6 separate regions of the Homo sapiens genome follow, and all the other regions are linked to region 1. The links are contacts of gene promoters, found by promoter capture Hi-C in blood cells and fetal thymus (Javierre and others, 2016). All regions are on one chromosome and are shown on one strand. Each heading gives the region's core, a stretch centred on a gene start or on the middle of the fragment in contact. The rest is flanking DNA. Distances are from core to core; before and after follow the strand shown. Region 1 holds the start of TRMT61B (tRNA methyltransferase 61B). Region 2 overlaps ALK (ALK receptor tyrosine kinase). Region 3 overlaps PLB1 (phospholipase B1). Region 4 overlaps PLB1 (phospholipase B1). Region 5 overlaps PLB1 (phospholipase B1). Region 6 holds the start of LOC124907747 (a long non-coding RNA gene).

Region 1 (3,669 bases), core at 1,046-3,545:
ATTCCAGCTCTTTGGGAGACTGAGGTGGGTGGATCACCTGAGGTCAAGAGTTCAAACCAGCGTGGCCAACATGGCGAAACCCCGTCTCTACTAAAAATACAAAAATTAGCTGGGTATGGTGGTGCACACCTGTAATCCCAGCTATCTGGGAGGCTGAGGCAGGAGAATTGCTTGAACCTGGGAGGCAGACATTGCAGTGAGCCGAGATCATACAACTGCACTCCAGCCTGGGCGAGAGTGAGACTCTGTCTCACAAAGAAAAAAAAAGGAAAAAAAGAAGGGAGAAATCCTGTTGATGGAGTTTATGGTGGCTGATGTCCTAGAAAGTACTGATTAGAAAGTATTAATTTATGTCTTAGAAAGTAATAACGGCCAGGCGCGGTGGCTCATGCCTGTAATCCCAGCACTTTGGGAGGCCGAGGCGGGTGGATCATGAGGTCAGGAGTTCGAGACCAGCCTGGCCAACATGGTGAAACCGAGTCTCTACTAAAAATACAAAAATTAGCCTGGCATGGTGGCAGGTGCCTGTAACCCCAGCTACTCGGGAGGCTGAGGCAGGAGAATCGCTTGAACCCAGGAGGCAGAGGTTGCAGTGAGCCAAGATCGTGTCATTGCACTCCAGCCTGGGCAACAAGAGCAAGACTCTGTCTCAAATAAAAAAAAAAAAAAAGAATAACAAGATTTATTTCATCAAATTTAAACAGAATTCACATTGACTTCACAGCCCTTTGAATATACTTGGACTTTAAGTTCAACTGTGCTGTTGACCAGTCTTTCCAAACGGTGTTACAGTACAAAGAGCATGGGCTGCTGAACCAGACTGACTAAATAGGAAACTCTGCAATGCCACTTGTCAGCTATGCATCTTGACCAACTTATTATTATTATGTTGCACGTGGGTCTTGAAATCCTGGGCTCAAGCAATCCTCTGGCCTGGGTCTCCCAAAGTGTTGGGGTTACAGGTGTGAGCCACCACTCCTGGTTTCCCCAAATTATTTAATCTCCCTGGGCCAGTTCTTTTACTCATAAAATGGATTTGTTTCTAACACAGAATTGTTGGAAACTTAAATGAGTGTCTAACGTGCCTCGTATTGCCAGACTCTCAATAAACTTTTGCCCAGTCAACTAATATCCAGCAAAGAGGCTAGCGATTTTTCTTTTTTTTTTGAGACAGAGTTTTGCTGTGTCGCGCAGGCTGGAGTGCAGTGGTAGCTCGATCTTGGCCCGCTGCAACCTCCGCCTCCTGGGTTCAAGCTATTCTCATGCCTCAGCCTCCCTTGTAGCTGGTATTACAGGCGTGCACCATCGCGCCCGACTAATTTTTTTCCCCCGAGAGGAGTTTTGCTCAGTCGCCCAGGCTGGAGTGCAGTGCCGAGATCTCAGCTCACTGCAACGTCTGCCTCCCGGGTTCAAGCGCTTCTCCTGCCTCAGCCTCCCGAGTAGCTGGGATTACAGGTGCGTGCCTCCACGCCCAGCTAATTTTTGTATTTTTAGTAGAGACGGGGTTTCACCACATTTGCCAGGCTGGTCCCGAACTCCTGACCTCAAATGAGCCGCTTGCCTCGGTCGGCTTCCCAAAATGCTGGGAGGCTAGTGATATTTAACGCTAAATAACTCTGGCCTCCAAAGATACCTGTTTCCATTTTAAGACACTTCTATTTCGTTTTGGGAGGGTAAACTAGTTATATTTTAATAATGAAAACATGTGTTACATAAGCACATAGTGAGTACTCGAATCAACCTCGGACTCTCCGGGCGTGAGGGGTGGGTGAGGGGACCGGCAGGTGGTCACAGCCCCATCAAAAGGGAGTTGGGGCTGGGGGATGTCGCGGTCAACTGGGAAAGGAGAGCCAATCAGCAAGTGGCGCGTCCCACGCCGTCTGTCAAATGCATCTGGGGGTTAGCTGTACTCATACATCTTGTGGGTGACTAGGTGACTTCCGTGTTCAAGACACAAGCGAGCTAAGCCTGGGATTTCAGTTTGCACAGCGCTTTGTTAAGTTTTGTCTCTCAATCTTGCTGTCCAAGAGCGAACCTGGAGGTCGTCTGTTAGCGGTAAATTCTTTACCCACATTCCGAAAAGGAAAACGGCGGCCGCGCGCGAGGACATATTCCTTGGATGGTCACTCAACCAGGACTCCGCTGCTCCCGCGCCCTAGCTTGACCTAGCGCACCGCCCCCTCCCCGACGCAGGCGCAGTCGCGGAGCTGTAGAGCCCCACGCAGCTGCAGAGCCATCGGGCTGCTGCGCCATGCGCGCGACTGGGAAAGAAGGGGTCGCGCTAGGCTTGCGTCACTCGTCTGCGACGGCGCCTTCGCGAAACACTATGCTAATGGCATGGTGCCGCGGTCCTGTCTTGCTGTGCCTGCGGCAGGGGCTCGGAACCAATTCATTCCTGCACGGCCTGGGGCAGGAGCCCTTCGAGGGAGCTCGGTCACTGTGTTGCAGGTCCTCGCCTAGAGACCTGCGAGATGGAGAAAGAGAGCACGAGGCGGCACAAAGGAAAGCCCCAGGAGCAGAGTCTTGCCCATCTCTCCCTCTGAGCATCTCGGACATTGGGACTGGATGTCTTTCGTCACTGGAAAACCTCAGACTGCCGACGCTGCGGGAAGAGTCATCCCCTCGAGAGCTCGAGGACTCGAGCGGAGACCAGGGCCGGTGCGGTCCCACACACCAGGGATCCGAGGATCCTTCGATGCTCTCGCAGGCCCAGTCCGCTACCGAGGTCGAAGAGCGTCACGTCTCCCCTTCTTGTTCAACTTCCAGAGAGAGACCCTTTCAGGCTGGGGAACTGATTTTAGCTGAGACTGGGGAGGGAGAAACAAAATTTAAGAAATTATTTAGGTTGAACAACTTCGGACTCTTAAATAGTAACTGGGGGGCAGTCCCGTTCGGCAAGATCGTGGGGAAGTTCCCCGGCCAGATACTGAGGAGTTCCTTCGGTAAGCAGTACATGCTGAGGAGGCCAGCCTTGGAAGACTATGTAGTATTGATGAAAAGAGGGACTGCCATAACATTCCCAAAGGTAATGCGATGGAGATAAGGTGTGTATTGGTTTCAGGAGGGGCAAAGACAGATGCAGTACTCAGTCCTGATTAATGTATTCAAAGACATCTCAGAACGTTTGGATTTTTTATTGTACTCAGGCTTTTAAAATAAACCAATGGTTATAACTTTTACATATCATGATGAAAATTAGCATTAGGGAACGGCTAGATTTTAATTTTAACTTAGGAGTCTCGAGTCCCTTATTTGTAAAATGTGGATAATAGCTCAACTTTCTGTTAGGGTGATGTGAACTCACTACGTACATAATAAGTACTAATTTTGTTCCCCATTACTCTTAAGTTTATAACTTCAGGACTCAAGAGAATGTTGAACTCTTAGGGAACAATTTTTTAGTACTACTATGATGATATTTTAATATTCAATAATCATGTTACAAGAGTATATTAACAATAGGTACATTACGGTGCTTTTCCCCTTTTAGGGAAGAAATAGAGTTTTATATTACAATAGCTAACATTCAACACCAAACATAAAATGACTATTCTTTATTAAAAAGTTAACTGCCTAAAGCCTAGTTTCAGTCTTTTTTTTAAGACAAGTTCTCACTCTGTCATCCAGGCTGGAGTGCAGTGTTGCGATCTTGGCTCCCTGCAACCTCTG
Region 2 (3,940 bases), core at 1,414-3,913, 330 kb before region 1:
ACGTATATATATACGTATATATATACATATATACGTATGTATATTTGATTTTAAATGCTCTGGTGCAAAGCTTTGGGCTTTTGTCGCTCCTGTTTAGGGCAGGCTTATAGGTGATGAAAGAACCATCTGGCATACAAAATATAGATTTGCCTCATCTGTAGGGTTTCTAGATAAAATACAAAATGGTCAGTGAAATTGAATTTCAGATGCACAGCAAATAGTTTTTTAGTATAAATATTGGAGCATACATATACTAAAAAAACTATGTGTTGCTTATCTGGAACTCAAATTTAACTAGGTATCTGGTATTGTTTGCAAATATGAAAATCCTACTTATTCAAAATTGTCAAAGTTCTATGACCAATACTACTTCTTGCTCCCTTGAACTCTAAACTAAGAAAATAAATATTCATGTGCAGTTCTATTAGTGCTCTCAAAGGATGCTATAACCTATATCTATCTAGAAAAACAGAAAACATATAGCTATAATTCTTTAGGCCTTACTGCCAGTTTCTTGTTCATTTGATTTTGCCTAGTTAGTTTTGCCTTGAAGGGAAGTAAGATCACCAAACAGAAAGGAATAATATATGTGCCAGGCAATTTGTAAGTAGCAAAATCAAGAGATCTCCAAACAGAAAGGAATAATATATGTGCCAGGCAATTTGTAAGTAGCAAAATCAAGAGATCTAATAATGTATTCCAGTCTGTCTCGGATTAGTTGTATAATAACCTGTGCTTCAACCTTCTCACCTGAAAAATAGGGAAAATATCTTTGCCCAATCCTTCTCACAAGAGTCTTTGAAATTTCACACAGATGATGACAATAAAAGCACCCCATGTTTCTTAGAAGATGAAGGAACTATTGTTCTCTACAATTTTTGTGGTAATATTTGCTAACCTCAGAAAACTACAATCACACTAAAAGATAGTCTTTGTCAAAAAGCTGATCATTAGGTAGTGGTTTAAAGTTTTAATCAAAATATCAAAGGTGATTCTTTTAGAACACGAAGAATTCATCTCATAAAGCTTTTAAAAAAACAAATGAGAAATCAAATATTTTTTAAAGAGAAATAGAGAAAAATGCCTTTTCAGATTTAAGACAAATACACAGAAAGTAAAATAGAATGGTATCAATGCAAGAAGCAGACAAATAGATGAAGTGAAAATATAGCCAGAAACAGACCTGTTTTTAATCGTGAGTCAATGGGTAAGGAGGAAATTATCTTATGCATAGTGTTGGAAGAGTAGTTATTTGAAAAGCAAATCAATTTAGGTCCTTACCTCACACTAGACACCAAATTAAATTCCAACTAGATTTAAGAAGAGAGCAAAAACAAACACAACTAGAAGAAGATAGCAAATATTTATCTAATCTTTGGTGAAGGGAAGATTGTATAACTATAAAATAAAGGAAATCATGACATTAAAAAAATAGGTTTGACTATCTAAAAATAAAAATCTTTCTTTGGTATGCTAAAAAGTAGCATTAGAAAGCAACTAAGGCCAGGTGCGGTGTTTCACATCTGTAATCCCAGCACTTTGGGAGGCCGAGGTGGGTGGATCACCTGAGATCAGGAGTTCAAGACCAGCCTGGCCAACATGACGAAACCCTGTCTCTACTAAAAATACAAAAATTAGCCAGGTGTTGTGGTGGGCGCCTGTAATCCCAGCTACTTGGGAGGCTGAGGCAGGCGAATCACTTGAACCTGGAAGGTGGAGGTTGCAGTGAGCCAAGATGGCACCACTGCACTCCAGCCTGAGTAACAGAGTGAGACTACATAAAAAAAAAAAAAGAAAACAACTAATAAAAGTATTTGAATTTTTTATAAAAGGTTAACATCTCTGACATATAAAGAGTGCCTACAAATCAAAAAGAAAATTGATTGATAGATACCAATTTGTCCCAGCAGATAAAAATGGGCAATTCATAGGAAAAAAAAGTGAAATGAATTAATAAACACTTGGGAAAACATCCAACCATGTGAATTATCAAGTCAATAAACATAATTTAAAATATTCTACCATTTTTTCCCTTAAAATCAGCAAAAGTTGTCATTATTATTAAGAATACTCAATGCTGGTGAGTGTGTCTACCACGCTTTTACATGGTGCTGGTAGATGAACAGAGTAACACATTTGGAAACCAAATAATATGCACCAAGAATTTGTCAATATTCATAGTCTTTTGATCTAGTTATTTTACTAGAATTAGCCTACATTTTAATTCAGTAATTACCCTGAATTACTAGATTATCCTATCTGGATTCAAGATCTATCTTGAAAGTTATAGGACTGCTGACTGTTGGATGGGAAGTGGAGGGGTGTGGGAGAATGGAATCAAGGATGACTCCTAGGTTTTGGGCTTGAGCAAATGTATAACCAGAGGTGCTGATGAGTTGGAAAAGAATAAAGGAGATGATGTGTGTACAGAAAGAGTTCCATTTGGGCATGTTAAATTTGAGTTGCCTATTAAAATAGGCCAGTGAAGTTGATGAGTGGGCATCTGATAGATGAAACTGAAGCTCAGAGAACTGTAAGAGACTATGAAATCAGCTGGCTGGACATCCTAATCTAGTAATTCAGAGACTTTATCTTAAGGAAATCTTCCTTTTAAAAAATGCACAAAGATGTTCATTATAGTATTTTAAATATTTTGAAAACTGAAAACAATGTGGAAATGATAAGGCAAACCAACTACTCAATGGAATGTTTTACAGCCATTAGCCATTCCAAATGTTATTTATGAAATGGACTGGCATGGAAAATGTTTATGATATAATGAAATGTGCAGAAAAGTCAAGGTTCAAAATTGCATATTGAATATAACTGCAAATAAGTGAAAAAAAATCTCAGCACAGAAACGACTTAAAAATCAACAGGGGTTGTCTTTTAAGGGAGCATCATGTGTAGTATTTTCTTATTTTTTAAATTTTTCTACATTTTAAGAGTTCTATGTTATGGAAAAGGGTATAATGGGGGAAAAAAAGGTTGAAATTGTATGTCTGTGTGCCTGTGTGTGTGTGTGAATGTGGGTGGGTGTGTCTATATCCATCTCCATGTCCTCTGTCCCATGCCCAGGTCCTTTGGAGTGCTGCTATGGGAAATCTTTTCTCTTGGATATATGCCATACCCCAGCAAAAGCAACCAGGAAGTTCTGGAGTTTGTCACCAGTGGAGGCCGGATGGACCCACCCAAGAACTGCCCTGGGCCTGTGTATGACTCTTTTAGGAACACTTCTGCTAGTTACTAAGCAGTTTTTCTTTTCAAAAAATATCCAGAGCCACATATGCTTCTTTAAGATGAAGGGGCAGATGGCTGCCCTCCCTTTAATATGCCCCAAGATGCGAATGTGACTGCGACTTCAGTGAGATGGATGCGTCTCCCAGGCCCTCAAAAGCAAGGATGCCATCCCAGAAAAAGTATCCATTGTCTGGCTACAGGCTGTGGACTCACCAGGCCTACATTCCCCAAGCTCCTGCTGGGAATGTGTGTCCCAGGCCCAGTCCCTGCTGCCCTACACCGTATGTCTGTGTCTACTTTAAAGATTTCCATTCCCTGCAATGTCTCCTGCCCTGCCTGGCACCCCTCACTTCCTTCCCACAAGCAACGTGGATGGGAAATATAATTGGAATATTCTGTCCCCAAAGTGGCTTTAACTCAGGAATGGAGTGACAGCAGCCGTGGTTAACATAAACATCAGGATGTCTGTGTTAGATACCTTTACACCTGCGCACTCTTCCTTGACCAATCAGCAGGGGGCAGCATAGGCCAAGTACACGGGGCCTAGACGAGTTCGCACCCTCAACGTATTCGTTGCAACCCTGGGGCTGGAAGAAAATATATTTTTCATCATTGTGCTTCTCCTTATTTTAATTAATGTGCTTCTTCTTTTAGATACCGGATAATGACTCAGTGCTGGCAACATCAGCCTGAAGACAGG
Region 3 (3,429 bases), core at 124-2,623, 310 kb after region 1:
AAGCATCTGCTCTGCTTCCTGATCTTTTATCTTCTGGCTCTGTGATCTTGGTCAGGTTACTTGCCCTCTCTGAGCCTTGTTTCCTCATCTGCAAAATAAAGGCCCTATAATAACAATGCCAACTACCAGATACTTAGTGTCAAGCACTGTGCTGGACACCTAAATTCTTTCTAGCCCTCAGACAGTGCTCAGGTAGTAGCATTATTTCTGCATCAGAGATGAGGAGAGAAGCTCAGAGAGGTTAGGGAACTTGCCCAAGGTTACATCCAACTGGGCAGCTAGGGCTCAGCTACAACTCTGGTTCCAAAGGCAATGATCTGTGCATCACTCAGGCCACTGCCTCCTTCTGAGATTATATCACAGAGGGAGAAATGGAAGCCAGAGAAGCATTTCCAGCCCAAACATTTATGTAGTTTCTCTCCTGGATTCCTGGCTCAAGGCTCAGCTACTGTTTTGGGCAATGTAGTGGTTTGAGGAGGCTGGTGAATACCTTTTTCAAATTAAACCTAGAAGTTGGTCATAGAAAAGAACAAAATGGCCCACCCTTCTGCTTAAGGCGTTGTTTTCTAGAACACTCAGGGGGCTTCCCTTGCTCTGCAATGAAGGGGCCTTTGGGGCCTTGCCACACCCTCACTCACCTCCAGGACAGGCCTCGGTACTGAGTCAAGACGTCCAAGACGTTCCCAGGTGTGGACCCGGCCCCATTGCCTGCCTGAGAGGGAACAATGAGGGGGTGAGTTTCTCTGCTTTCCCCAGTGGCCCACCTCTGCCTACCTGCCAAAAGGTCTATGTTCTTATGCTGGCCAGGACCACCTGGGCACTCTCTGGGATCTAGGGTCTAGATGGCACCATGTCTCCATATGTATCCTGCCTTTTCAGAGATGAGTGAGAGTGCCCACTGGGAATGCCTGGTGCTACTCCCAGCTCTGCTTCATTCTAAGAAACCCTGCCTAGGCCAAGACCAAGTAAAACTCGTCCAGCAAAAGTGCTCTTGAAATTAGACTGTACCTTTTCAAAAGGATACATTTCAGGGTCCTGTTTTTCTCATTTTTTTAAAGTTGTGAAGTATATCATAAAAGGAAATACATCATTATCCTTTTATACCAATATATCTCACCTATGCAGTTTAAAATGTAGTAATAAAATGAAATCCCACGTAGCCGTCATCAGCTGAAGAAAGCACAATGTGGACACTCTCCAGGTGCGTGTCCCTTGCCTAAAGCACTTTGCTTCTGAGCATTTTGAAGGGCATGCTGAGACTGGCCTCCCAGGCAGTTGGGGGTGAAGGCTGGCCTCCATGAGAGGCCCCCCAGGTGTGATCCCTGCTCTCTGGTGCCCAGTTCCTTTGCTACCTGCCAGGCAGGTTCACACCCAAAGTGCTGCCTCCCTAGGAACCCCTGAGCAGCTGTGCCGAGATGTGATGACCCCTTGTCCTGAGAGTATCTTCAAGGAGACCAGGGAATTGGGAGCAGGTGATGTCAGGCCCCGCCGGGCAGGAAGAGGTTGGGATAAGCAGTGTATGAAGCTGCTAAGGCCCAGCCTGCCAGTCCTTCCTGGGAGGTTATGAGCAGTCAGGTCTTTGGGGTAAAGAGTGGCTGAGGGGCCACGGAGGAGGCTGCCACAGCATAGGGATAGGGCCCTGGACTTAGGGTCAGGATCCCTGATTTGTGATCCTGGCTCGAGCACTTACAAGCTGTGTGACCTTAGGCACTTCACCTTGCCCAGCTTCATTCACCTTCTTATTGATTTAGAGACAGGGCCTTGCTCTGTTGTCCAGCCTGGAGTGCAGTTGCACCATTGTGGCTCATTGCAGCCTCGAAATCCTGAGCTCAAGTGATCTTCCAGCCCCAGCCTTTCAAGTAGCTGGGACTATAGGCATGTGTCACCATGCTTAATTTTTTTTCTTTTCTTTTTTGTAGAGATTGGGTCTTGCTACATTGCCCAGGCTCACCTTGACCCCCTGGCCTCAAGTGATCCTCCCACCCTGGCCTTCTAAAGTGCTGAGATTATAGATGTGAGCCACTGGGCCCAGCCTTTATTGGTTGAATCTAAAGAAAGTCATGCCTCACAGGATTTTGTCATGAAGATACATCCCACTGAGTGGATGATATCATTGTGATAGACCATAGACATGAGAGGTGTCTGCTTGTTCTTGGGGAGGATTCAGCTGGAGACCCTGTATTCTACTGGCCCAGAGAATAGCAGCTGGACTCTGATGAGAGGCTGTTGAATGGAAGCTGTGTCTAGGAACCTCTGGGACTCCCAGCCCCCAGGCTCTCAAGGGCCTGATTCTGCTTTTCATGGATAGTGCTTTGCAGGGTCTGGGATGTCACCCGGGGGCAGATGCAGAAGTGGGTTTGGAACATCTCTGGCCTATCTGCCTCTTCCACAGACTCCCGTCTTCCCACCCTCCCCCACCTCCCTGCCCCCATTAGCACTTGCCCTGTCTCATCATCTCTTCACCTCTCTTCCTGGTACCTTCCCTTAGCTTTTCTACATGGACAAAACAAAGCACTGGATCCTTGGAGGAGTTCTACACCATGGTCTGGAGATCTTGTCCAATCCTGCCCCACCGCTGACCAGCTGTGTGACTTGGGGTGGGTCACTCCTGTCACCCACACTCCCTCTGGGGTCCCTCCACTTCCTGCTCTCTCCTTCATCTCAGCATTGGGGGAGGAAGATGAGACCAGAATGGAGGTGGGAAACCATGATGGGAAGGGAATGCTGTTGAATGCCAGGGTGGGTCGGACAATGGAGAGATGGAGATCAGGACCCGAGATGGTAGCATCTAAGAGCCAGGCGTGAGACCTTCTCTCTCCATTTTCCTCTCCAGGTTCTCATATTAGTCAAAATCTTTTCCCCTCCTGCCCCTTCTGCATCAGGGTCACTTACCGTGAGAGAGTCACCCAGGGCTCCAATTACGTTGATGTCAGCCGGCTTCAGCCTATGAACTAAGAATATAAGCAGGAGTGAGTGGAAAATGGGGCTTCCAGGAAAGCACTGGACCCATCTACTCTGAAACAAAGGAACAACTTCCAGGATAACAAAGAAAAAGTCAGTTTTTACCACCAAGACACCTTGGATAAAAGATAGGAAAAACCCATCCTTGTCAATGGGCTCTGCAATGCCAGCTGTGGAGTCTGAGTGCTGGCTTCCTCTCTGGGGCACCTGGACACAGGAACAGGAAGCTGAAAGGTGGATCCTGCTTTAAGTGGGGAGCTGTGCTCGCATTTGGTGGGACCAGATGCTACAAGGCGAGTGGTGGCAGGCCCTTGGCAAGGTGATTTGGGAGGAGGGAAGAAATTGCCATGGAAATGCAACCAATACTTAATCTATTCTAGGATCTGATATTTGGGATAAAATATTACATCATCCTATAAAAATCAGTTCAGTTTCTCTAAAGTGAAAAAGGAATACTTTTATGCCACT
Region 4 (3,710 bases), core at 289-2,788, 260 kb after region 1:
ACTAGTTAGCCTTTAACGTACAAAGTGATGAGAATCTGAGCCCCTGCAGTGGCAGTGGGAAAAGGAAGAGGGACAGGTGGGAAGAATCCTATTAGATTCTGGAGGACTGGTAAGAATCCGATTAGATAGGGTCCCTGACATTTCATGCCTGTAGAGCTTGAAAACCCTAATGAAGTTGGCAGAAATAGAGAACTCCTAAGGAACAGAGAGTTTGGGAAGACAAAGAATTAGTTCCTATTTAGACACTCCTTGCTCAGAAAATTATTTTTTGAATGAATGTTAAGCTTGAGATGGTGGTGGGGTCATGGCAGGATTGGATTTAGAAGCTCTGAGCGTCAAAAAGATAACAATGTCACTTATATGTAATTCAATACAGAAGCACTGCTAAACAACAAACTAAGTTTAAGGGAATTTGATAAACTTCGGCTTTTTCTCATAAGAAAAGATAGGGTATGATACATGAACTTATTTCAGCCCCCTCCTGCTTGATCATACATTAATCTGCCTTTTGGGTAACCTTATACCAGATAGAGCATCCAAGGGGAAATGTATTTTAAAGGTCAGAAATAGAGGATTGGAGTTCGGGAAAGGAGAAATGAAGACACAGATTGAGAGACTGAGGAATCCAGCACAAAGAAATTTTACAGGAAATCCTGGAAATGGGTAAGTCTCAGAGTGAGAGGATGTGGAGAGAGAGAAAAGAAAACAGAGGCCGGGCACAGCTGCTCACACTTGTAATCCCAGCTCTTTGGAAGGCCAAGGCTGATGGATCACTTGAGTCCAGAGTTCAAAATCAGCCTGAGCAAAATGGCAAGACCCCACCTCTACCAAAACAAATAAACCAAAATTAGCTGGGCATGGTGGTGCATGCCTGCAGTCCCAACTACTCAGGAGGCTGAGGTGGGAGGATGGCTTGAGCCTAGGAGTTGAAAGCTGCAGAGAGCTGTGATTGCGCCACTGCACTTCCAGCCTGGGAGACGGAGCAAGACCCTGTTTCAAAAAGTGAGTGAAAAAGGAAAGAAAATAGAATGGAGACATGAAAATTGGAGAATATCTACATTTTCAAGACTGGGGAAAGGGAGGAGGAGGGTCATTAAAGGCAAGCAAACAGAAGACCAGAAAAATCAAGGCGATTTAGTGTCCACAAACCCAGGAAGGAGTGAATTTCAAGGGGGAGGTGGTGACTTTTGACAAGGGCTTCAGAGAGGTCAAAAAGAATGAAACCTAAGAAAAGGACCAGGTGTTCAGCCAGCTGCCCTGGGGTTAGGAAAGGAGTGGGCAGAGAGCCCATTAAGGCAGAGTATAGGCTCAGTCCACAGAAGGCTAGTCAAAAGTTGTCTGTAAAAGAATTTGTCCAACTTGAAACTACAACAGAAATCCATGGCGTGCTGTTAAGTCACCCTACCTGGCACACAGAACGTATGAGCAGTTAGACTGCGGATGGGAGAAGGGAGGAGGCTGAGAAAGCTCATGCTCACAGCCATCTCGGCCTCCTGCCTCCCGCCCCCCACTGCGTCTTGCCTGTTGCCTGTTGCCTCTATGTTTAGACACATCTAGGACAAAAATAGGTGCTGCCTGGCCCCTGTCAGCTCACACTGAGATGCTGGTGGACTTTTATATCACTCCAAGGCACATGGGAGGGAGCAGATGGGACTGAGGAATGCAGAATGCTCAGAACACAGTGAAGTTGGGCTGGCCAACAGATGGACCCTTTCAGAATGGGCTCCAATGTTGCTTAGCAACAGCTTCACCAGGGCTGGGCTTCTACTGGTTCCACGAGGCTGGATCTGCTCACCTCTGCAAATCAGTGCAGTGGCTCCATTGGGCTCTGTCTAGAAGGGAGGCACTGAGCCCACTCAGCTTAAGATGCTGCTGGGTGGAGCAGCCTCCTTTTGGGGGTCTCTGCCTGATCTGGGGTAAAGCCTGGAAGTGGTTGCCTCGAAGCCCAGGGTGACAGGGCTCTCCCTGACCCAGTGCTTAGGCTCCAACTCAGTACTCAATACACGTTTGTTGAAAGAAAGAGCAAATGATGGCTGCTTTTGTTATGTAATGGAAGGGGAGTGGACAGTTTGGAAAGGGCCCTCCATGGCTGATATTCAGTATGGCTATAGGGTTGGTAAAATATTGACATATCTACAATATGGCTATTTCTGAGTCCCCAAATGCCCCCACTATCCACGGTCCCTGGCTGCTCCCCTAGAACCCCCAGGCATCCTTAGGAAAGCAGTTAAAGAGTTTACACCTGGCACAGTAGGGGCCTCTAAGGTTTTGCTCCAGGCCTTTGGCCAGCACCTGACCACCTGGACTAGAGGCATCTGTGTTGCACTAGCTGTTGCAGAATCTGACAATCTCCTTAGCTCCAAGCACAAGACCCAGCAACTGAGCCCTCTGCTACGACTGTCTTCACTTCCCATCCCTTCTTCCTGCCATTCTTGCTCTCCTGATGGGGCTGATGGCACACAAGACTGAGCCTGAGCCCAAGACTGGGGTAGGGCAGGCAGCAGACAGGGAGCAGGCATGTGAACAGGGGTGCCCACTCTCTCAGGATTCCCAGCAGACACATGGGGGAGCTGCAGGTCCATTCCCCAGCAGGGAGGGTGGGAGAGGGTGGTGTGGCCGACCTAGGAGGGAAACCCAGCCTCCCAGATTGGGTCAGGCCTTCTGCTTTTATTGCTGCTGAGGGTTTTCTGGCCTTGGCCTTATTTGGTTAAAAAGCCATAAGACCGGGCCTAGAAACAGGAGCTGAAGACAATGAGAACCTGCCCCCACCCCAGGCCTGAAGTCAAGCTTAACAACCACTTACGGATTCCTCCTTAAAAGGAGCCTGGAGCTGCCGTGTCCTGGTAGGCCCACCCTCGTCCCTCCTCCATACAGCTCTGGGCTCTGCCCTTTGCTGCTGTCCTCTGTGATCCTTTCCTTGTGGAATCTCCCTAATCCAGGCTCTCCTCTCTCCAACCACAGCTCTTAAGCCTGCCTGGCTCCTGCCTGGGCCCTCTAACCTGCAGTCAGATTTTTTCATCTGCCCCAAACACCACTGCTAAGAGAAGCCCTCCTGCCATTTTCCTGGCATCCTGATTTCCTCTCTCAGGAGCCCACTTTTCTCACCGGGATCCTCTCCCTCTGCTGGGGCCCAGGCCTCCTCTCCCTGCTGCATCTCCTGTTCCCAATGACAGCTGCACTCTTGTCTCCCCTCTCACCTCCCCTGTCCATCCTCATGGACTCCCCTCCATCCTCCAAATCTCTCAGGCCTCAGTAAGGGGGCAAGATGGGTACTGAGGAAGCTGTGGTGGAGGACGAAGTGGGTAGGGCGAGCTGTGTGCCCTGGTTTGTGGAGAGGAGCCAGGCAGGTCCTCCCCTACTACCTGAGTGGGACAGGTGATGGGCATCTCTGCTCTCAGGTCCAGGGTCTCTGTTTTGCTTCCAAGTGGTTCAAGCTGATCAGGGAAGAAAAGAGAGACACGGGTGTAGTAGTTTGTTTCCATGGAAGTGAACATTCCCTGGCAGAATCCTGCAGTGGGGAAAGCTCAGAACTCGATTTCAGGGGGCTTGGCTCCCACTTCTGGCTCTGCCAGTTGCCAGCCGTGGGGTTTTGGGCCAGTCGCTTTGCTTCTCTGGGAGTAGCTTCCTTGGAGACTCGTCATGCTTCTCTAGCAGGGATATGCAGAGCCTTAAATGAGATAACGTGGCTTAAACTGCCTAACATGGTGGCC
Region 5 (3,936 bases), core at 431-2,930, 290 kb after region 1:
TCAAGACCAGGCTGGCTGACATAGCGAAACCCCGTCTCTACTAAAAATACAAACTATTAGCTTGGGGTGGTGCTGCATGCCTGTGGTCCCAGCTACTCGGGAGGCTGAGGCATGAGAATCGCTTGAACCCGGGAGGCGGAGGTTGCAGTGAGCCGAGATTGTGCCACTGCACTCCAGCCTGGGCAACAGAGCGAGACTCTGTCTCAAAAGAAAAAAAAAAAAAGAAAAATTCCTAGACCTGGATTTGCTCTTGAAAATGAAATAGACTTCTTCTGATTTCTGTAGGAGTGACTTTTATGGAGACGAGTCACCTTACGGCTGTCTGAGGAAAGTGCTGTGCCGATGAGGCATACTGCAGTGACAACAATAATAATTGCTAAGATACATTGATTTGAGTGTATCTTAGCAATTATTATTGAATAATTAACATTGAACACTGTACCAAGCACTGCAATAAAAACTTTATGGGTATTAACCTGTTTAGTCCTCCCAGCCATTCTAGAAGTGGTATTCTCATTATCCCTGTTTTAGAGATGAGGAAACCCAGGCTCAGGGTGGTTGAGTAACTTTCTCAAGGTTGCATGGGTGCTGAGTGTGGGAGCTAGGACTTGAACTCAAGTCTGCCTGGCTCTGAACCTGAGCTCTTAATCTCTATGTTAAACTGCTTCCATCCAATCTGCAGCTCTGACCCGGCCAGCTATCTGGCACATCTGGGCTTTTGGTCCAGGGGGATGAGGTGATAACAGCAGGGATGGCTCCGTGTAGACTCAGCACTGCAGAGGAAAGCACAGCCACCCGATGAAACAGTGGAGAGGCGGGGAGTGCAGGGCACTGCAGAGGTGGCAGGAGAAGGTGACCTGAGTCTATCCAACCTTGACATTCAGTGACTTGGCCATCTCAGATCTGTGAATGGGCCTGGCAAATGCCTATTTTGAACCTTGAGTTTGAATGGTCTAAAAAACCCTGCCAAGATGGGTAGCAAGAGGCTTTCTGGTAAACTGCTCTGAAATGGAGTGAAGACACCGATCCCCTGTGTGGCCCAGTGACTGGAGAAAGTGTGAGCCAGCGGATGAGTCAGCAGTTGGAAATAGCATGCCTGACACCAGCTGCGTTCATAGGAACATGTCACCCAAGCAACCATCCTGTCTCTGCTCACAGCACCGTGAGGCCTTCTCCAGGGGACCTGTGCGGTTTGGGTCCCCCAGGTGAGGCATGGCATGGATCTGCAGAGGAGCAGGAAAGGTACCCCTTAACTTCCAAGAGCAAGTCTGGCCCTTGTGAATTATTCAGTCATTCAGCAAACAGCAGCTGAGCCCCTACACCATGCTAGCAGTGACTCAGGCTGAGTTCACAGGCTGTGGGGGAGGGAGGCACATGAGTAATTACCATGTGATGTGCTCAGGGCTGGGGTGGGGACCTGTACCGAGTAACAGAGCTGGGGGGCAGGGTAGGGGAGCACAGTCTCAGTGACCTTGGCTAACAGTCCAGAGGAAAACCTGCAGGAAGGAAGGCTGCGGAAAACGTTCATGCTTCACTTAGAGGAACGTCTTATTCCTGACGGTCCTGGAGATGTGTGATACAGGCTGGGTCTCCCTTATCTGAAATGCTTTGAGCCAGAAGCATTTCAGATTTCAGATTTTTTTTTTTTTGGAATATTTGCATTACCCTATGGCTATCGTTTTAAGCCACATCTTTACCACACAGAGAATGAGCAAAAACTAGGTGAGTAATGCACGCAGGTCTTAGCCCCACATGAGCCATTATGGGGAACCTGTTGTTGGAGCATCCGGCCTGCACATGTGCCATTTTGCTACCCTTTGTGGGCATGCTTGAGCCGCAGGATCTGGGCATGCCCAGAAAAGAGAGTGCATCGCAGCTGAAGGAGGCTTTTTGGGGATGCTGAATAAACTGCGTGCTGTGCACCTGTGTTTTCACTACAACCTGTCACATGAAGTCAGGTGTGGAATTTTCCCCTTGTGGTGTCATGTCAGCACTTTAAAAGTTTTGGATTCGGGGCCAGGCATGGTGGCTTCACGCCTGTAATCCCAGCACTTTGGGAGGCCGAGGAGGGTGGATCACCTGAGGTCAGCAGTTCGGGACCAGCTTGGCCAACATGATAAAACTCCGTCTCTACTAAAAATACAAAAATTAGCTGGGCATGGTGGTGTGCCTGTAATCCCAGCTACTAAGGAGGCTGAGGTGGGAGAATTGCTTGAACCTGGGAGGCGGAGACTGCAGTGAGCCAAGATCATGCCACTGCACTCCAGCCTAGGCAACAGAGCGAGACCCTGTCTCAAAAAAAAAAAAAAGTTTTGGATTTTGGAGCATTTCAGATTTCAGATTTTCGGATGAGGGATGCTCAGCCTGTATTAGAAGGGGAAGCCAGCTCTGTCTGGCTCTGGAGGCTGAGGGGTGAAGACGTCCTCTCAGGCACCTTCTCAGGACCAGGGTTCTCTACTCTCTGGGGAGGACTCTGTCCTCTGGACCCTGCTAATTCTGGTTTGACCTCCTTCTCTGGCAGGTGACAGTGGCCCTATATCTGTGAATGCTTTACATGGAACACCCATACCAACCAGAGGCACCCCTGTCCTAGAGATGGGCCTCTAGGAGGGGGCAGATCAGCTCTGGACACACTTGGAAGTAGGTCCCAGCAGTGGCCTGGGCGGTCCCCGGGCCTCAGACACACAGCTTGACTCCATTCCTAGCGTTTTACTCTTCCCTCTGGAGGCCTGGAGGGTGCCTTGTGGCTGCCATGGCAACAGAGGCGGGGTGCAGGGGTAGTTCCCCATGCACACCCTGAGGTGGGCTGAGGCCTACACCAGGGTGGAAAAATCCTAGGATATCCTCCCCTTAGGCTTTTCCAGGTTAGAAGATGGGGTGGTCACAGCCCTTTCACACTTCGGCCCTTGGGTTTTCTAAGGAATTTGCTAAGGGTGCCACTGCCCTTAGCAGTGAGGATTCTTAGTAGAATCGGGGAGAAGTATCTGTCTGACCTGAGGATCATCCTTGGGCAGTAGACTTTTTTCTCCTGGTACAGCTCCCTCAGGTTGACGATCTCAAGCACCGTCACCAGGTTCACAAATGCCCGAGGAACCTGAGAAAAGGCAAACTCAGTCACCAAGAGGATGAGGCTGGGCAGCCTTTCACCTCGGTTTGGGGCCTGCTCCTCCTGCTGAAGTTTCAGATCTAGGGACTTCCATCTGCCCCCATCCACTTCCTCCACCCGTCCCTGCTCCCCCTCTATGCATTTGGGCTGGGATCCACAACAAAGGTGACCTGCCAAGGAGGTCTCAGCAGGATGCCAGAGCTTCCTCTAGGCTAGGTCTGAGGTCTAAGATGCAGGCCTCATGGCCTAGCCTCCGTACCTCAGCATGGAGGATGTCCAGGGCCTTTCCAATGTTGTCTGTGAAGTTCTGGGGAGAATAGTGGACCTGCAGGAAGAGGAAGTGTCCCTTGAACACCATTTGTCACCTAATCTCTCTACAGAACAGGGCTACTTTCTCTCTTGGGTCCCCTTCTTTTTTTTTTTTCTTTTTTTGAGATAGGATCTCACTCTGTCTCCCGGGCTGGAGTGCAGTGGTGTGATCATGGCTCACTGCAACCTTCACCTCCTGGGCTCAAGCAATCCTCCCACCTCAGCCTCCCAAGTAACTGGGACCATGGGTGCGTGCCACCACACCTGGCTAATTTTTGTATTTTTTGGTAGAGATGGGGTTTCCCCATGTTGCCCAGGCTGGTCCTGGGCTCAAGTGATCCATCCACCTCAGCCTCCCAAAGTGCTGGGATTACAGGTATGAGCCACCGCACCTGGCCAGAGTCCCCTTCTTTCTGTATTCAGTCACAGTGGGCAATATTGAAATAGTGTTTGTCTTTGGGGCCCCAGCCTGGACACCAGCCCCATGATCCTCAGGTTTGTCATGGCTGTGGCCCTCAGGG
Region 6 (3,693 bases), core at 495-2,994, 260 kb before region 1:
ATAAAAGTTTACAAAATTAATTTTACAAAGAAGGAAATATGAAAAATGCCCCTCCCTGCACCCGCCAGGAGTCTACAAATGTCAGAAGTACAGAGCATGAAGAAATAATCAGAAGAATATATAGTATTAACTCACTGCCCCATGAAAATCCTGGAAATACAAATAAATATCAGAACTTTTAAAGGGTTTCTCCTTTATTACCATCTTCCTTTCAGATGGGGAAAAAAATCTATACCATTAACAATCCTAACAATGCAAAACTTAAAATGTAAGAATTCCTTACCTCATTTCCAATAATGTCAATGTTTTGTTGGACCTGAGGAACCCACTGTCTCAAAATGGCAAATAATTCTGAAACTGAAGTTTTGGGATCAAAAAGAATTTCCTGGCATGATGCATCATTAGGATCAAAGAAAGAAAATTCTGAAATAAAAAAAGATGCAAATTAAATTTACTAAAAGTTTCAAATAAATATATTGAAAATAATAAACAATAAAACCAAGGTTCAAATGATACAAATATTTTAGATGCTAAAAAAAAATCAGAAGTATCTAAATAAGGAAAATATTATGAACATTTGCTGAGCACTTACTAAATACTTTAAAAATCCTCACCAACACCTTACCTGGCAGGTATTATTCTCATTTTGCACATGAGGAAAGCAAAGCTCAGACTAAATAATACCAGCTCAACATCGCACAGCTAGTAAGTGGCAAATCTGGGGTAGAAAACCAGGTCTGTCTCCAAAGTCTATCTTCTTTCCTCTATTATTCTACTTGCTGAGGTAACTCACCACTGAGCTCAGATTGTAACAGCATGCATAAGTAGTGGGACTCATTGAGGTTTTTTTGTTTTTGCTTTCTTCTTTGCATTTATATATTTTCCAAAATTATACTATGTACACATAGTTCTTACTTCTAGAGTCAGCATAACTAAAAGATGAGAGGCACCAAACTAAAGACACATATACAAGCAGAGCAGCAGTCCATCAGAAGAGAATCAGAAAGATTGAACTGAAATGTGATAACATTCGTAAGCTTAGACAACAAAATGGTCCTGTTAGGCAAAAATCAAAATAGAAGCCAAGACAAACCTTGGCCTCTGAGCCAAAGTCCCACCCCCAGCTCAGGAAAACCTGTAAGGACCTATTCTCCAAAACACCTACTTAAACTGCACATGAAGCTTGAACTTCATTTCTTGGTCAGCATGACTCAGCACATTGCAGCAAATCAGTAATGACTAAACTAACCCACTCATTCTAACCAGTGAGAATTAAGCTGTATGAATTTCCTTTTCTAGGCTTTATAAACCTTACTATAACCTTCGTGAGACAAGCTTCTTACCACTTTTGATTTGGAAGTCTCCCTATTTGCAGTTTTTTACTAACTTAATATTTATATTAAGAAAAGCACCCTGAATTTTCTTTTGACAGTTTTTGATGTCAGAAGCAGGATCAGAAGAAGACCCCTGTGAAGCCCCAAGGCCAGTAACTAGGTGCTGGTACCCAGGGCCGCAGCACTGGCTGCTCTCTCACCCAGCCATGGAGTTCTAGAGTAAGTCTCTTTTGAATCTGAGCTCTCCTCCTTCTGTGTAGAACTCTCCAATTATGCTGAACAACCTTTGCTGAAACTTCTCAGGAAGTCAACCTATTCTGTTCAAAAGGGGGAAGGGTGAAACACATGATTCCCTGTGTTCCAGAGCAGCTGCTGAAAAAAGAATCCTTAATAGTTAAGACCTTTCAGAGAATCTAATGCAAAGATGGGGTCCAAAAACACTGTGGATCAGAATCTTGTGAACTTTACAAAGTTCACAAGAAAAAATAGGTGAACTTTACAAAGAATAATTTGCAATTTCAGTGACCACTTCGGAGAACCTTTAATTTAGGTAAGATAGTCTGCCTTTGGGAGTGCCCTTGAAGGAGGAGTATCCTAAGCCTTTTGGAGACAATGGAATGCATTCTTTGATTTGTATGCAGAAGCTGCTGAACACAAAATGACTCAAAAATAGCTTCTCTAAAAGCATCCCTACAGCACTCAAATAAAAAAAAAATCTTCACTAAAAAGCTGTAGCCATCTGAGCAGGTAACCTTGACTTGTTCCATCTCTCACAGGTACAATTTGGATCCAGCTTCTTTTATAAACCAATAAGCTTTGTATTATTTTAATTGACACATGGCTAAAATTTGGAAATGAAAGCTATAAGATCTCTGTGTCTGTCTGTATACACAAACAGACACAGAGATCTTATAGCTATGTATGTTCAATAGACATAAGTAAAAACAAGTGCTTATATAAATTAAGTATTCCTGAAAACTCTCAGAAAAATAGGAACTAATCCAAATGCTTTTCAAGTTCATGTGACTTGGGTAATTTTCAATAAACAAAAACATTGTTGGTTTAGTTTAAAAAACCAATATGCCTTCAGAGTTGTCAGCATTAGACATAAGGCAGACGTACAACTTTGATTCTATGTAGGTCTACTAGTCAAATAAGCTCATGTTAGACAAGTGAATTACAAATAAGCCTCTGCTATCTCTAAGTTACAAAATTTCTCAGCAAGAAAAACAAGATGATGCTTAGCTATTTAATGTCTCATGAAATTTTCGTAAGTAATCCAAGCATAATTGTTCAAAACAAGTGAATTAAATCAATGTAAGTCCACATAAGATAAATACTGAAACATTAATTGCTGAACATAAGCTTATCTACTTTTGGACAGAGAAACTAAAGATACCTGGGTGTGTTAGTAAACATGTCCTGTGCTACACTGAAAAATTATAATATAAGGAAACGTGCTTCTAGAAATTATGGTGTATTTACATAGATTTCTCAATCTACAGAATGCTAGCGTGACAGTCAAGAAAAAATGTGAAGTAGGAAGATATGTTTTTTGCTGAAAAAGAAAATGAAGGAAAAAAACCAAAATGGCTATAGGAAGTTCAGAAGAGGGAGAGAGAATCTTGTGTGATTAAGCTGGCTAAAATTGAATGAATCTATTATCATTCATATCAAAATAATGCATAACTAGCATTTCAGCTCCTGTTAAAACGACTAAACTTTCTTGGAGTATGGGCCTGCTCTTGATGGGAGATTGTGAAAGGTTTTTCTTTAACTTTTGAATGGTCTGCCTAGAAAGCAAAGATTCTGTATTTTGTCAAGATAATTTCATGTGCTTCGTGCTGTCTTTGATTAAGTTTCTCTCTCAAAAAGTCAAGGGGTTTTGTTTTTTTTTGTTTTTGTTTTTTTTAACAACTACATGGCTTTCTCTGTATTTGCCTTTGAAATCTTTGTCACTTTGGTTAAATGGATAACTAAATACCTGTAATCCTATTTAATCAAGTGCTTTGAATCTTGAATCTTTTGGGTATTCTTTTTATAAACGTCTCAAAAATCAAATTCTGAATGAAGTCTTTTCTGACCTTAGACTAACTCTGGGATTTTTCAACGGCCCCTAGAAAATCTTGTTCTATTTCTTTAAAAAAAAAAAAAAAAAACACAGACATTAAACTAATTAAGCATCTTTGCATGGGAAGCATTGTCAAATAAATGTGAAACTAACTAGGCTTATTTGATATGTGAAACTAACTAGGCTTATTTGATCTATTACACTGCATGAGAAGCATTGTCAAAGGTGATGCTTAACCTTATGTTATTTTTGTATGACTATATTATTAATGTAAGTGTTTTAGAAATT

What was found. The method cuts DNA at HindIII sites, captures the fragments that hold promoters and counts their contacts. A CHiCAGO score of 5 or more calls a contact.
Region 2: a contact is called between a fragment that was not itself captured here and the fragment with the promoter of TRMT61B in region 1, in 1 of 17 cell types (activated CD4 T cells). The highest score is 5.0, in activated CD4 T cells.
Region 3: a fragment that was not itself captured here is called in contact with the fragment with the promoter of TRMT61B in region 1 in 4 of 17 cell types (naive CD4 T cells, total CD4 T cells, naive CD8 T cells and 1 more); the score reaches 9.0 in naive CD4 T cells.
Region 4: a contact is called between a fragment that was not itself captured here and the fragment with the promoter of TRMT61B in region 1, in 1 of 17 cell types (total B cells). The highest score is 5.3, in total B cells.
Region 5: a fragment that was not itself captured here is called in contact with the fragment with the promoter of TRMT61B in region 1 in 2 of 17 cell types (activated CD4 T cells and naive CD4 T cells); the score reaches 5.3 in activated CD4 T cells.
Region 6: a contact is called between a fragment that was not itself captured here and the fragment with the promoter of TRMT61B in region 1, in 1 of 17 cell types (total CD8 T cells). The highest score is 5.0, in total CD8 T cells.

What each region holds. Positions count from the first base shown.
Region 1 is chr2:28,868,935-28,872,603 of GRCh38, reverse strand. TRMT61B (tRNA methyltransferase 61B) reads left to right here and starts at 2,295. Exons shown (of 7, transcript NM_017910.4): 1 at 2,295-3,025. The coding sequence starts at 2,327. RefSeq lists enhancers at 1,953-2,102, 2,333-2,502, 2,117-2,641, 3,271-3,669. The HindIII fragment of the contact is 7,170 bases long and covers 1-3,669 here.
Region 2 is chr2:29,196,815-29,200,754 of GRCh38, reverse strand. It overlaps ALK (ALK receptor tyrosine kinase), which reads left to right. Exons shown (of 29, transcript NM_004304.5): 27 at 3,079-3,213; 28 at 3,895-3,940. Among named protein-coding and RNA genes, the nearest start is that of CLIP4, 83 kb to the right of the region's middle. The HindIII fragment of the contact is 3,270 bases long and covers 1,029-3,940 here.
Region 3 is chr2:28,562,563-28,565,991 of GRCh38, reverse strand. It overlaps PLB1 (phospholipase B1), which reads right to left. Exons shown (of 58, transcript NM_153021.5): 18 at 2,893-2,951; 19 at 639-712. Among named protein-coding and RNA genes, the nearest start is that of PLB1, 68 kb to the right of the region's middle. The HindIII fragment of the contact is 8,202 bases long and covers 1-3,429 here.
Region 4 is chr2:28,606,220-28,609,929 of GRCh38, reverse strand. It overlaps PLB1 (phospholipase B1), which reads right to left. Exons shown (of 58, transcript NM_153021.5): 43 at 3,363-3,434. Among named protein-coding and RNA genes, the nearest start is that of PLB1, 110 kb to the right of the region's middle. RefSeq lists enhancers at 1,759-2,390, 2,391-3,021, 3,022-3,653 and a silencer at 2,377-2,544. The HindIII fragment of the contact is 2,503 bases long and covers 287-2,789 here.
Region 5 is chr2:28,581,563-28,585,498 of GRCh38, reverse strand. PLB1 (phospholipase B1) reads right to left here. Exons shown (of 58, transcript NM_153021.5): 24 at 3,366-3,431; 25 at 2,994-3,094. Among named protein-coding and RNA genes, the nearest start is that of PLB1, 87 kb to the right of the region's middle. RefSeq lists an enhancer at 975-1,034. The HindIII fragment of the contact is 5,337 bases long and covers 1-3,936 here.
Region 6 is chr2:29,127,988-29,131,680 of GRCh38, reverse strand. It overlaps CLIP4 (CAP-Gly domain containing linker protein family member 4), which reads right to left. Exons shown (of 16, transcript NM_024692.6): 3 at 284-423. It overlaps LOC124907747 (a long non-coding RNA gene), which reads left to right and starts at 1,333. Exons shown (of 2, transcript XR_007086264.1): 1 at 1,333-1,553. The HindIII fragment of the contact is 813 bases long and covers 1,338-2,150 here.